2 separate regions of the Homo sapiens genome follow, and region 1 is linked to region 2. The links are contacts of gene promoters, found by promoter capture Hi-C in blood cells and fetal thymus (Javierre and others, 2016). All regions are on one chromosome and are shown on one strand. Each heading gives the region's core, a stretch centred on a gene start or on the middle of the fragment in contact. The rest is flanking DNA. Distances are from core to core; before and after follow the strand shown. Region 1 has its middle 33 kb from the start of LY6H. Region 2 holds the start of GLI4 (GLI family zinc finger 4).

The links. Contacts are between HindIII fragments. The CHiCAGO score rates a contact against its expected background, and 5 or more counts as called.
Region 1: a fragment that was not itself captured here is called in contact with the fragment with the promoter of GLI4 in region 2 in 2 of 17 cell types (total CD4 T cells and total CD8 T cells); the score reaches 6.3 in total CD4 T cells.

Annotation. Positions count from the first base shown.
Region 1 is chr8:143,124,092-143,129,627 of GRCh38, forward strand. No RefSeq gene overlaps it. Among named protein-coding and RNA genes, the nearest start is that of LY6H, 33 kb to the right of the region's middle. RefSeq lists an enhancer at 2,803-3,362. The HindIII fragment of the contact is 1,590 bases long and covers 1,659-3,248 here.
Region 2 is chr8:143,264,353-143,270,410 of GRCh38, forward strand. It overlaps GLI4 (GLI family zinc finger 4), which reads left to right and starts at 3,093. Exons shown (of 4, transcript NM_138465.4): 1 at 3,093-3,132; 2 at 5,008-5,168. The coding sequence starts at 5,045. RefSeq lists silencers at 2,559-3,268, 3,429-3,548 and enhancers at 4,109-4,931, 5,558-5,747. The HindIII fragment of the contact is 18,516 bases long and covers 1,336-6,058 here.

The sequences.
Region 1 (5,536 bases), core at 1,204-3,703, 140 kb before region 2:
ACGCACACCCCCTCAAACGTACACACCCTCACACATGTACATGCACACACATGCACACATGCATGCCCTCGCATGTACAGGCACACCCTAATACATCCTCACACATGTACGCACACAAACCCTCACACGTACACACACCCTCACATTTACACACTCAAACGTACACACATCCTCACACATGTACACACACCCTCGCACATGTATACATATGCACACCCTCACACGTACGCACACCCCCTCAAACATGCACACATACACGCACACACATGCCCTCACATGTACATGCACACACCATCAAACATGTACACATGCACACTCGTACACACACCCCCACACACACACTCACACACGTACACACACCCACATATGTACACACCCTCACACACATGTACACACACCCTCACACATGTACACACCCTCACACGTACACACATGCACCCTCACATGTACAGCCTCACACATGTACATGCACCCACACATGTAACACACCCTCACATGTAACACGTCACACGTACACATGCATCCTCACACACACACCCTCACACATGTACACACCCTCACACGTGCACACATGCACTCCCACATGTACCCCCCACCCCCCCACGTACACATACAGGTACACACCCCTCACACATGTATGCACACACCCACACGTACATTCACATACATGTGCACACACCTTCACATGTACACACAGACCCTCACACTGTATACATATGCATACCCACACGTACACACACCCTCACATATGTACATGCACACATACACATGCCCTCACATGTACACACACACCCTCAAATGTACACACATCCTCACACATGTATACACACGCACCCTCACATGTACACAGCCCTCACACATGTACACACCCTCAAACATGTACACACATCCTCATACACATGCACACCCTCACAAATGTACATGCACACGCATGCCCTCATATATGCACGAGGACACACCCTCAAACATGTACACACACACATCGGCACACATGCATACACATGCCCACACACTCATGTACACACATACACACCCTCACACATGTACATACACCCTCACACACACCCTGATAAATGTACACACACACCACACACCCTCACATATGTATACACACACCCTCACACATGCACACACGTGTACACACATGGAAAGTGTTACCATTTGCAACCCATCCATCCTCCCCTGGGGATGCTCTTGGAGAAAGAAATCAGACAAAAGAAAAGAATGTCCTTGTAAACACGCTAATGAGAGCTCCTGGAGGTGTCGACTGTGAGCACAGAAGAGCCTTCTGTTCAGGATTAAACACATCTGGGCTTATGGCACACGGCCCACTGGAAAATGTCAGTGCCTCTGGCAATTTCTAGAGTTTAAAGGGAAAAAGTTTCATAACGGAAAGAGCCCCCTTTGGGTAAGAGCTGCCCCTCCTGTACCACGGGGAGCTTCCTACCCTAAACCTTGATGCAGCGTGCCTCCATGTGTCAGGGACGGGGGTGGGGGTCGGCGAGTGGGCAGTCCCAGTGGTCCCCTGGCTTCCCCTGGCTCCCAGGCAAACGAGACCATCCCGCTCTGCGTGCTGTCTCCGGTGGGCACCACGAGCAGCATGGCTGTTTATTATCTAAGCTGAGGTTCTCTGAGGCAAGATAAGGGGGCGCGGGAGAAGCTTGCTGAGGACGAGGCTCCAGGTGGCTGTCAACCTGTCCCTGATACAAAACGCTGACAGCCTTGGGGCTGGCCACAGGGAGCACACCTTACCGAGGGGACGGAGAGGAAGCCGACCTGGGGCGGGGAGCTGGCCAAAGACCGGCACAAGGGAGGCGAGAGAAACAGCTCTTCCATGGCAGGTGCCACTGACACCCAGACAGAAACAAGGCCACTGGAAGAAGCAGCTGGGGCACAAGAAAGAAACCAGACCCGGTCCTCGGGTCAGTGCAGTCTCCTCTCTCCAGTGGCCAATTAAACAGATGTGACATTCATCCAAAAAGTAACTCAGCTGAGAAACCTGACTGGCTGCAAACCCATGCTGCGGGTGGAAGGGCATGGCAGGCGGCTGCGGAAACCCGAGGGTCCTCTGAGAAGAGCCAGGACATTTGGGGAGAGCGGCAGGCAAAGCCCGATGGCTCAGGATGGGCACAGTTTCCTAAATTATCAGTGCGAGGGGCGGGCACACCACTGATTCTAGATACCACTGCATGGAAGTGATGGTCAGGGCCAAGAACCAGTCCCCAAGACGCTGCAAGCTCTTGTGATCAAATGCTTCCAGGTGGGTCCATACGTCACTTGCTGCAGGTGGCAAAGGTGGGGGTTTTACCCTGAGAGGAGTGACTGCCCCCCACCAACCCACAAATGGCATCTTGCTTCCAAAGCTGTTGGGAAGTTACAAGTGCAGGTGACCCTAGGCTGGCTTTACGGTGAACAAGGGGACGCCTAATTTAATGCCATTGACACCAATGTTGCCACTAAACAGAAGCCCCTAAGACTGAAACTGTATAGGTTTTTGCAAAATTACATTCCTCATCCAGAAATCCTGTGATTCTAGTCACAGTGTCACTGGGGGAAAGACCTCGATGTGAAAGGGCCCTGCCCAGAAACAAGCTGGGACATGGCCCAGGCAGCCCACGGGGCCACTCAGGTGCTACTGGGAGGGCCCAGGTCTTGGTCAGAAAAGATTGGCTTTTGGCAGAAATGCAAATCACGTTTGGGGCCCAGGGGCTACCTGATGCATTTCTTTCATGTTGCCTGGGAGACCACCGTGAGCTGGCAGCCGTGCTGGGAAGATGCCCGTGCTGGGGCCCTCGCTGCACTACGAGCCACCACAACCCCACAGTGTGGGTCAGTGCCTGTTGACTGCCTGGCAGCTCCAGAGGGGTAGGAGTGCGAGGGCTCGGCTGGGCGGGGTCTCACAGACTGCAGTTGAGGTGTGACAGCTGGGCTCCTGGGTGGAGGCCCAGGGCTGTTCGGATGGATGGCAGACTCTTTTCCCGGCTGTAGAGCTGCATTCTCCGTCTCCTTGCTGGCGGTCAGCAGGACCTGGTCTCCACCGTTCAGGCTGCCATCTCGCACGGCCCCACAGCACTCTTCCCTGGCCTCTGACTCTTCTTCTGCTTTTAAAGGGCTGGCGTGATTCGACCAGGCCCACCTGCATCCACGGACCCTAAGGTCGGCTGACCTGGGACACACGGCACATCTGCAACGCCCCTTCCCGGCAGCACCCACGGGTATTGGAGGAGTGGTAGGGGATGGGGGAAGGAAGCTTGGGTGGGTGGGTCATTGGAACTCTTGTGCATGGAAGAGCGTTAGATGATCCCGACACCAGAAAAGTTGGCCACGTCCCAGGTGGCGTGAAGAAGCACTGGAGAAAGAGGGGCAACCCATGAAAGCCCCTTGGCGGGTTTAATGTCCAGCGGCAACAGTGAGGGGCCCAGCGGGGCATGGGTGACAGGGACCAGGTTACCAAGGGTCTGGGCGGGGAATGGCAGGGCATGTGAGGGGTATGGTGGGGAATGGCGGGGAATGGCGGGGCATGGGAGGGGCATGGGAGGGACATAGGAGGGACATAGGAGGGGCATGGCGGGGCATGGTAGGGCATGGCAGAGAATGGCGGGGAATGAGAGGGGAATGGTGGGGAATGGCGAAAAATGGCGGGGGAATGGGAGGGGCATGGAAGGGAATGGGAGGGAATGGGAGAGGCATGGCGGGGAATGGCGGGGCATGGGAGGGACATAGGAGGGGCATGGGAGGGACATAGGAGGGGCATGGCGGGGAATGGCAGGGAACGAGAGGGGAATGGTGAGGAATGGCGGCAAATGGCGGGGGAATGGGAGGGGCATGGCGGGGAATGGCAGGGCATGGGAGGGACATAGGAGGGGCATGGTGGGGAATGGCAGGGAGTGGGCTGCACAGAGACCAGCTTGCTTTGCTGCCCAGAGGGCTGTAAAGCAGCCCCCGCGGACCTCCTGGCCTGGCCCCTGCATCAGGCGGTCCCCCAGCCGGCAGAGCAGGCTGCCTGGCCCGGACTCTTCCCATGCCGGGGGCCCTTCTGCTGTTTGTAAATCAGCTTCCCCACGCCACACAGGTGGAGGCAGGACAGGCAACCTCCCTAATGCGGGAGCTGAAAAGGAGTGAAAAAGGAGTCAGGCCCCTGCTCTGGGGGCGTTTAGGGATTTGCCAACTCGGGCTGGACAACGGCCCCGCAGGATGCCAGGCAAATGCACCCCAGAGAACTGGACAATTGGAAAATCCCCAGGGTGCCCTCAGGAATGGGAATTCCTGCCAAAAACTCCTGTTGCCAGCTCAGAAGGGGTTGAATGGTAGCGCCTTGGTCAGATCCCAGAATGCGCCCAGCAGGTTAGGGAAGGAGCCAGCAGGAGGGAGCATGGGGTCCCCTTGTGCCCAGCGCAACAACTAGCATGAGAAGAAACCACATCCACCGCTGACCAGAAAGCATTTGCAAATAGCTTTGGGTGGCACCCCCGAAGGACAAGGCCTGGCCACAGCAGGCAAGGGGGACCCTGGGTGCCTATGGCCTATCAGGAGGCCCGGAACCAAGGGAGCACTCAGGACACACCAAGCAATACAGGACACACCAAGGAGCTCTTCCCATCCCAACACAGCCACAGGCACTCTTGCACCAGATGTGGGCAGGGCCTTGTTTCCTGCACACCAAGCAGTGCTGCAGGACACTGTCTGAGCATCCTACGGTTTAAGTCATTTCCCACCGCATCCGCCTGGAGGTAGCGTCAGATCCCACAGATCGAGGGCTCAGTCCCGTGCAAGGGGCCCCACTTCTGATGCCAGTTGCAAGCCCCGGGTGTGGCTTCTGACGGAACTGCCATGAATCAGGGTTCCCACAACCCCCTCCTCCGGTTTGATGAATTGCTGGAGTGGTTCACAGGACTCAGGGACACGCCGCCCTGCGTTTACCCATTTATGACACAGGCTGTGACGAAGGTGCGGAGGCACGGGGGGTGGAGGAGACAGGCACGTACATGTGCAGCTTCCAGACAGCCCCAGGCCTCCACCCAACATCCGCGCATTGGAGATGGGAAGTTCCTTGGGTTTTGCAAGGCACAGGGGAGAATGGCAGAGCTCCTGTGCCCTCCTGGGCGCCGTCCTCCAGGCACCTGCGTGCGTCCAACTGTTGAAAGCTCCTTTTGGGTTTTTATGGAAGCTTCATTACATATACATGATTGATTGCATCGTTGGCTATTGATGATCAACCCAAACTTCATCACACTCACTACAAAAGAGACTCTTGTCACTCCAGAGATTCCAGGAAGGAGCTAAGCTGTATCTCACGCTCTCACGACACTCTATTCTGGACTTGGCTTATTTGTAACAGAAGCAACCTTGGGAACAGCATGAGGTGTTTAGAATGGTGAGTCCTCTGTCAATTTCAGCCGACTTGGACCTACTTCTTCTGATCCAGGTACCCACTCTTGCTGGCACCAGGACACTGAGACGGTCCAGGAAACACGGCAAGCATACGTGTGCACCACACTGCTCGTCCCGTCCAGCTGTGGCCATGCTGAAAATTGCA
Region 2 (6,058 bases), core at 1,843-4,342:
TGAACAGGCACTGGATTCCCCGATCTCAACAAAAGAAGCCCATGGAGGCCTTTTCTAATCCACAGTCCAAGAGGACAAATCAAGACAACAGGCTGGGGGGGCTGGCTGTGGGCCGACTCCCACGTCTTAGGACCAGGGGCTCTGGGGCTGTTTGGGCTGGAACCCCTCCTCCCAGCATAACAAACACTAGCTCATTATTTACAGTGAATACCCAACAAAACCCTGCTCGAGGTGAGGAGCGGGGACCTGCTGCTCCAACAGACCAGACTGGCTGCTGGCTCCGAGCTCATTAAATCAGCAACCTTTGCACTCCCTCCAAAGCCCTGCCCGTCACCTTCACACCTCCCTGGTGGGGGAAGGGGATTCTTCCACTCTGATTACACCCGTTCCCATCTCCCTTCACTCCTGTGAGCTGGCCAGGCTGAGGATTTGTCCAAAGGGCCTGGGGAGTGAGACGCTCCACAGCTTCTCATGGGTCAGCCGACATGGACGGTAGCTTGGGTGACTCAGCTTCCCGTGATGCGCTGGATGCACAGGGAGCTGGTGACAACAGCCTGTGTGTGTGACAGAACAGCCTGTGCGTGTGACAGGACGTCAAGAACTACATACAAAGACACAGCTGCCCCCAAAAATGAGTCTGCACAGCCTGGTGCAATGCAGCTGCAGCCTGTCATCGAGTCAATTGCATTGTCGTCCGCCGCTCTCCTGATGTAGTTCTGTGTTTGTCCATTTTGCACTGCTATAAAGGAATACCTGAGACTGGGTAAGTTGGTGAGCGCCTGTAGTCCCAGCTACTCAGGACGGTGAGGCAGGAGAATAGCATGAATCCGGGAGGCGGAGCTTGCAGTGAGCCAAGATCGCGCCACTGCACTCCAGCCTGGGCCACAGAGCGAGACTCCGTCTCAAAAAAAAAAAAAAGAAAAGAAAAAAGAGGAGCTGGGCGCAGTGGCTCACGCCTGTAATCCCAGCACTTTGGGAAGCTGAGGCGGGTGGATCACCTGAGGTCAGGAGTTCAAGACCAGCCTGGCCAACATGGCAAAACCCCGTCTCTACTAAAAATACAAAATTATCCGGGCATGGTGGCGCATGCCTGTGATCCCAGCTACTTGGGAGGCTGAGGCAGGAGAATCACTTAAACCTGGGAGGCGGAGATTGCAGTGAGCCGAGATCGCACCAATTGCACTCCAGCCTGGGCAACAAGAGCGGCAACTCCATCTCAAAAGTAAATAAAGAACAAAAGGGGTTTGCTTGGCTCACAGTTCAGATCAGCGTTCAGAGGGTGCTGCTGTCCCTGGTCATACTGTACAAGAAGAGGCTTCTGGGGAGGGCTCAGGAAGCTTTTACTCACAGCAGAAGGCAAAGTGGGAGCCAGGGCATCCGTCACTTGGTAAGAGCCAGAGCAAGAGAGGGGCGGAGGCGCCAGGCTCTTTTTAACAGCCAGCTCTCACTCATCACCAAGGAGAGGGCACCAAGCTACTCATGACCCAAATAGCCTCCCACCAGGTCCCACCGCCACCATCAGGGGCCACATTTCCATGAGATGTGCAGGGGGCTCACTTCCAAACAGTATCAGATATAGTACTAGTTCCTTTTTTTTTTTTTTTTTTTTGAGACAGAGTCTCATTCTGTTGCCCAGGCTGGAGTGAAGTGGCGCGATCTCGGCGCAATGCAACCTCCGCCTCCCGGTTCAAGTGATTCTCCTGCCTCAGCCTCCCAAGTAGCTGGGATTACAGGTGCCCGCCACCGTGTCCGGGTAGCTTTTTTATATTTTTAGTAGAGATGGGGTTTCTCCCTGTTGGTCAGGCTGGTCTCAAACTCCCCACCTCTGGTGATCCACCCACTTCAGTGTCCCAAAGTGCTGGGATTACAGGCGTGAGCCACTGCGCCCGGCGCTACTTATAACTTTTTAAGAAACTACCAAGCCAATTTCTAGAATGGCAGCACCACTTTGCCTTACCACTGGCGATGTCCCAAGCTGCTCCGCGACCTCAGTGATGCTTGGCACTTGTTAGCAGTTTTTACCTGAGCCACCTGGCAAGTGTGCAGTGGCACCCACCGCGATGCTGGCCGGCCCTTCCCTGACAGCCATCCCTTCCCGAGCCTATTGCCATCCCTGTGCCCTCTTCGGTCAAACGTCTGTTGCGGCTCTTGCCAATTTTCTAACTGGAATGTTTGTTTTCTTGCGGTAGAGTTTAGAGATTTTTACATATTATCAGCCTGGGGGCTCCTCCACCCACACAGCCCTGAGCGTCCACCCTGGCAGCTGTTGCCCGTCTGCAGGCCCCCCCGCCCTCTGCTCCGCGTGCCCCTCCAGCTCAGGGGTCCCCTCGCCTCGGCTCTCTGCACCCCTGCTCAAAACGGTCAAAGAACCCTCCCCGGCCGTTTATTTTTCCCAGAAAGTGACAATTTTCTCTTTTCAGGTCGTAAGCACAGAACTGAGGGAGAAACTGTGGCTGAACAAGAGGAAAATGAGGAAGGAGTCCATGAAGGGGCTTTGGGGAACCTGTAACATCCTCCTCAGGCTCCCGGGGACGCCCCTGGAAAGCAGGCAGAATCGAGGGCGCTGGGGCCCCCGCGAGGGGAGCGGGAGGTCGCGCGTCTCGCAGCGGTTCCCGGCCGCCGGTGACCATCGCTGCGGACACATCCCGAGGAGGGAACCCAAGAGGGCGGCGGGGGGGACTCGCGAGCTGAACGTGGAAGCAACTCCAGCCGAGGACCCCCGGAGGCCTGGAGTGCACGGAGGGGCCGCGGGCAGCGTGGGGACGGCGCCGTCATCTCCCGAAGCCCGGCCCCGCGCTGGCTCCCCGGGCGGTGCAGGGCCGGCGTCGGGAAGGAGGCTCCGAGGCGCCGGCTTCTGCGCCCCACGCAGCGCCGCTCCCCGCGCCCGGGCGCTTTGCAGGCGCGGGCGGGATCCGGGCCAGCGTGTACGCGAAAGCCACGCGCGGGCGCAGCCCACGAGGGGAGGGGCGGGGAAAGGCCTCCTCTTCGCTCCCGGCCCCGCCCCCACACGGCCACCGAGGCGTGCGGTCCTCCCGGGGCCCAGAGCGTCCCGGAAGTGCGCGCCGGCCGGGCGGAGTGGGGCGGGGCCGGACACTTCCGTCCGGCGCGCGGCGTCCTCCTCCCGCTCGGAAGGTGAGTGGGCGCGGGCGGCGGCGGCGGCTCCGGGTGCCTGGGACCAGCCCAGTCCGAGCTCGTGCGCCGTACTCCGCGGTGCAGCCCTGCCCAGCCGGGCCGTGCGGCCCTTGCAGCCGCCGCTCGCCGTGACCTTGGCCTTGGGCCAAGCCCGGGGAGCGGGGTGGGCTCCTGGGGGTCGCGGAGCAGCAGCGGACCGCCCCGCCCAGCGGCCCTGGCGATAGCGGGTGTCCGTTCGCAGGGCGCCTTTCCCAGGCACCCAGTGACGGCAGCTGTCGTCATCGCCACTCTGCAGATGGGAAACTGAGGCCCGGAGGTCCCGCCGCTCCGGAGCGAGGAGCCGCCGGACCCCAGCGCCGCACCGCCGGGCGGACGCGCTCTGTGCCGAGCTCCCGGCGATTGGGTCCGCTCCCACGGGGCTGGGAACAGAGGGGCAGAGGATGCTTCCCCCGAGCCGCTGGCAGGAGTGCCCTTCCCCCTTCAGTCTGGAGCTCAGAGTTTGTGCGTCCCTGGGGGTGAAGGGGCGTCCACGCTGTGATGGTCGCCTCTGCTCAGTCCTGGGGGCCAAGCCAGGGTCGGGGTGATCGAGCAGGCCCTTTTACCAGGTGTCCCCAGTAAGTTAACTAAGTAACTTGAGATGTGACTTCAGGGTGGAGGACCTGCACCCAGTGGCCACCTACCTGGTGACCTGACCCTTCCCATCATTAGGGGATGGAGGCTGGCCCAGAAGCCGGGCACTGGGGTGGCGGCCGTGTGGGAGCTGCCTCTCCCACTTCCTCGAAGCAGGCACTGTCTGCTGTTCTTAGATCTGAGTATCCGTTAACTTTTGTCCTCTTTTCCCGTTCCTTTCTTCACTCCCTGCCCCAGATTAGGAGTTCCTACTCTATCACAGTATGAAAGAAAAGTCACTTTTCACATTGGACTCAAGCCGTTTTTGCAAAGTAAACTAAGAAGTGTCTTGGAGCCCTGAGTGAGTCTCCCAGTGCTGCTGCAGGGCTGGACTAGGGGATTCCAGCCTGCAGTCTCTGAGGGCTCTGTAGGGTCTGAGGAAGAGAGTTGCCCTCTGGAAACGTCTCTTCTCTGCTGTTCGGGAAAAACCTTATTAAGATTTCCTCCAAAACACTCATGCGCAGCAGGCATGGTTCGGTTTTCAGCCCTCCCACAGGGCCAGCAGCTGAGGTTTTTCTGGAAGACTCCCTATGCCTTTCTCTGGGGGAGGGGTGATGCCACGGGCTGGAAGGAGATGCCAGAGCCTCTGCTGGGACAGGAGCTTCGCTTCAGCCCCCACAGGCGTCTGCTGTGCCGCCCAGGCGGTGGCTGCTTCCTAAGCGCGCCTTCCAAGGCGTTACTCCTTTGCTGCTGCTGCTGCTGCTGCTGTTGTTTGAGTCTTGCTGTGTCTCCCAGGCTGGAGTGCAGGGGCGCCATCTCGGCTCACTGCAACCTCCACCTCCTGATTTCAAGCTGTTCTCCTGCCTCAGCTTCCCAAGTAGCTGGGATTACAGGTGCCCGCCACTGCGCCCAGCTAATTTTTATATTTTTAGTAGAGATGGGGTTTCACCATATTAGACAGGCTGGTCTCAAACTCCTGACCTCATGATCTACCCACCTCGGCCTCACAAAGTGCTGGGATTACAGGCATGAGCCACCGTCCCCAGCCACTCAAAGCGTTATTCCTTACTGAATAAATGTGCCAGGTCCCCCAACTGCCTCACCCCAGGCCTATGTGTCTCTGTGGGTTCATCCTCCATCCTTGCTCCTCCTGGAGTGGATAAACCTCCATCTCCCCTTGGAGAGCTGGCATGTTGCCTCCTCCTGCACCATCCCCCCGACATTCCTCCCAATCCCCTCATCTGCCATGGTTTTCATTTTCCCCAGGTCCCAGGTGTGACACCTTCAGCAGGTCTCAGGGAAGATGGCAGCCCTAGGGGACATTCAGGAGTCCCCTTCTGTCCCGTCCCCTGTCAGTCTCTCATCACCGGGGACACCTGGAACCCAGCACCACGAGCCTCAGCTTCACCTCCATGGGCATCAACATGGTACTCACCCAGCCCGCTGTGCGCCCTCCACCCTGCATCCCCTGCCCTCACGTCCCCTGCCCTGTCTCCTCCTGACCTGCCACGCTGGCTGACTTGAGAGGCGCCTCCAGACACCTGTATGCAGCTCCTTCAGCAGCTGGGGTTCCCACACCCTCAGGCCAGGGGCTCGGCGCGGGTTGGGTTGGGGCAGCGGTGGTTGAGGCTGGGGCCAAGCCTGAGCTCTCGCTCCCTAGGGACAGCTCCCCGCATTGTTTCTTTCCTGAGTTGAGGTATAGGAGGGAAAGTGGCCTCAAAATCTGGATCCAGCGTGACCAGGAGCAAGGCATCGCCCCTCTGAGTGTGTGTTGTCATTCAGGAAGTGGAGCAGCCAGAGTCCTTGCCAAGCTGGTTTGGGTGTGATCCCCCGGGACTCGCAGGGACAGAGCGCCAGCCTTGCTCCACCCCTGATGTTGTGGCCTCATGGTCACATGGCAGGCTCTGGGAGTTGAGGTGTGGGGGAGTCCCAGCCCCATAGTGCCCCTGGCTCTACTCCCTCTCAGAGGTCAGGGATCCTGAGGCTACATCTCTGCTGGGTGTTCCACAGGAGGCCTGGCCTCGGCCCTCGTGGCCCAACCCAGCACATGAGCTGCTGACAGCAGGGGCAAGGCCCCATATAGGTCAAGCCTGGAGAGCCCGTGCCTGGCCCAGGAATGGGGGCAACCTGGCACAGGGTTCTCCCTCTTGGGGAGTCAGAGTCCTGGTGGCTGAAGGGACCACTGAGGCTTGTGGAGAGCAGCTGCGCTGCATGGGGCCCTCAGGTGGGCACTCAGATGGGGACAGAGAGTCCGGGGGGCTCCCCCAAGGAGCCAGGACCAGGGTGAGTTAGAGGAGCAGGGAGCCAGGCAGCTTGG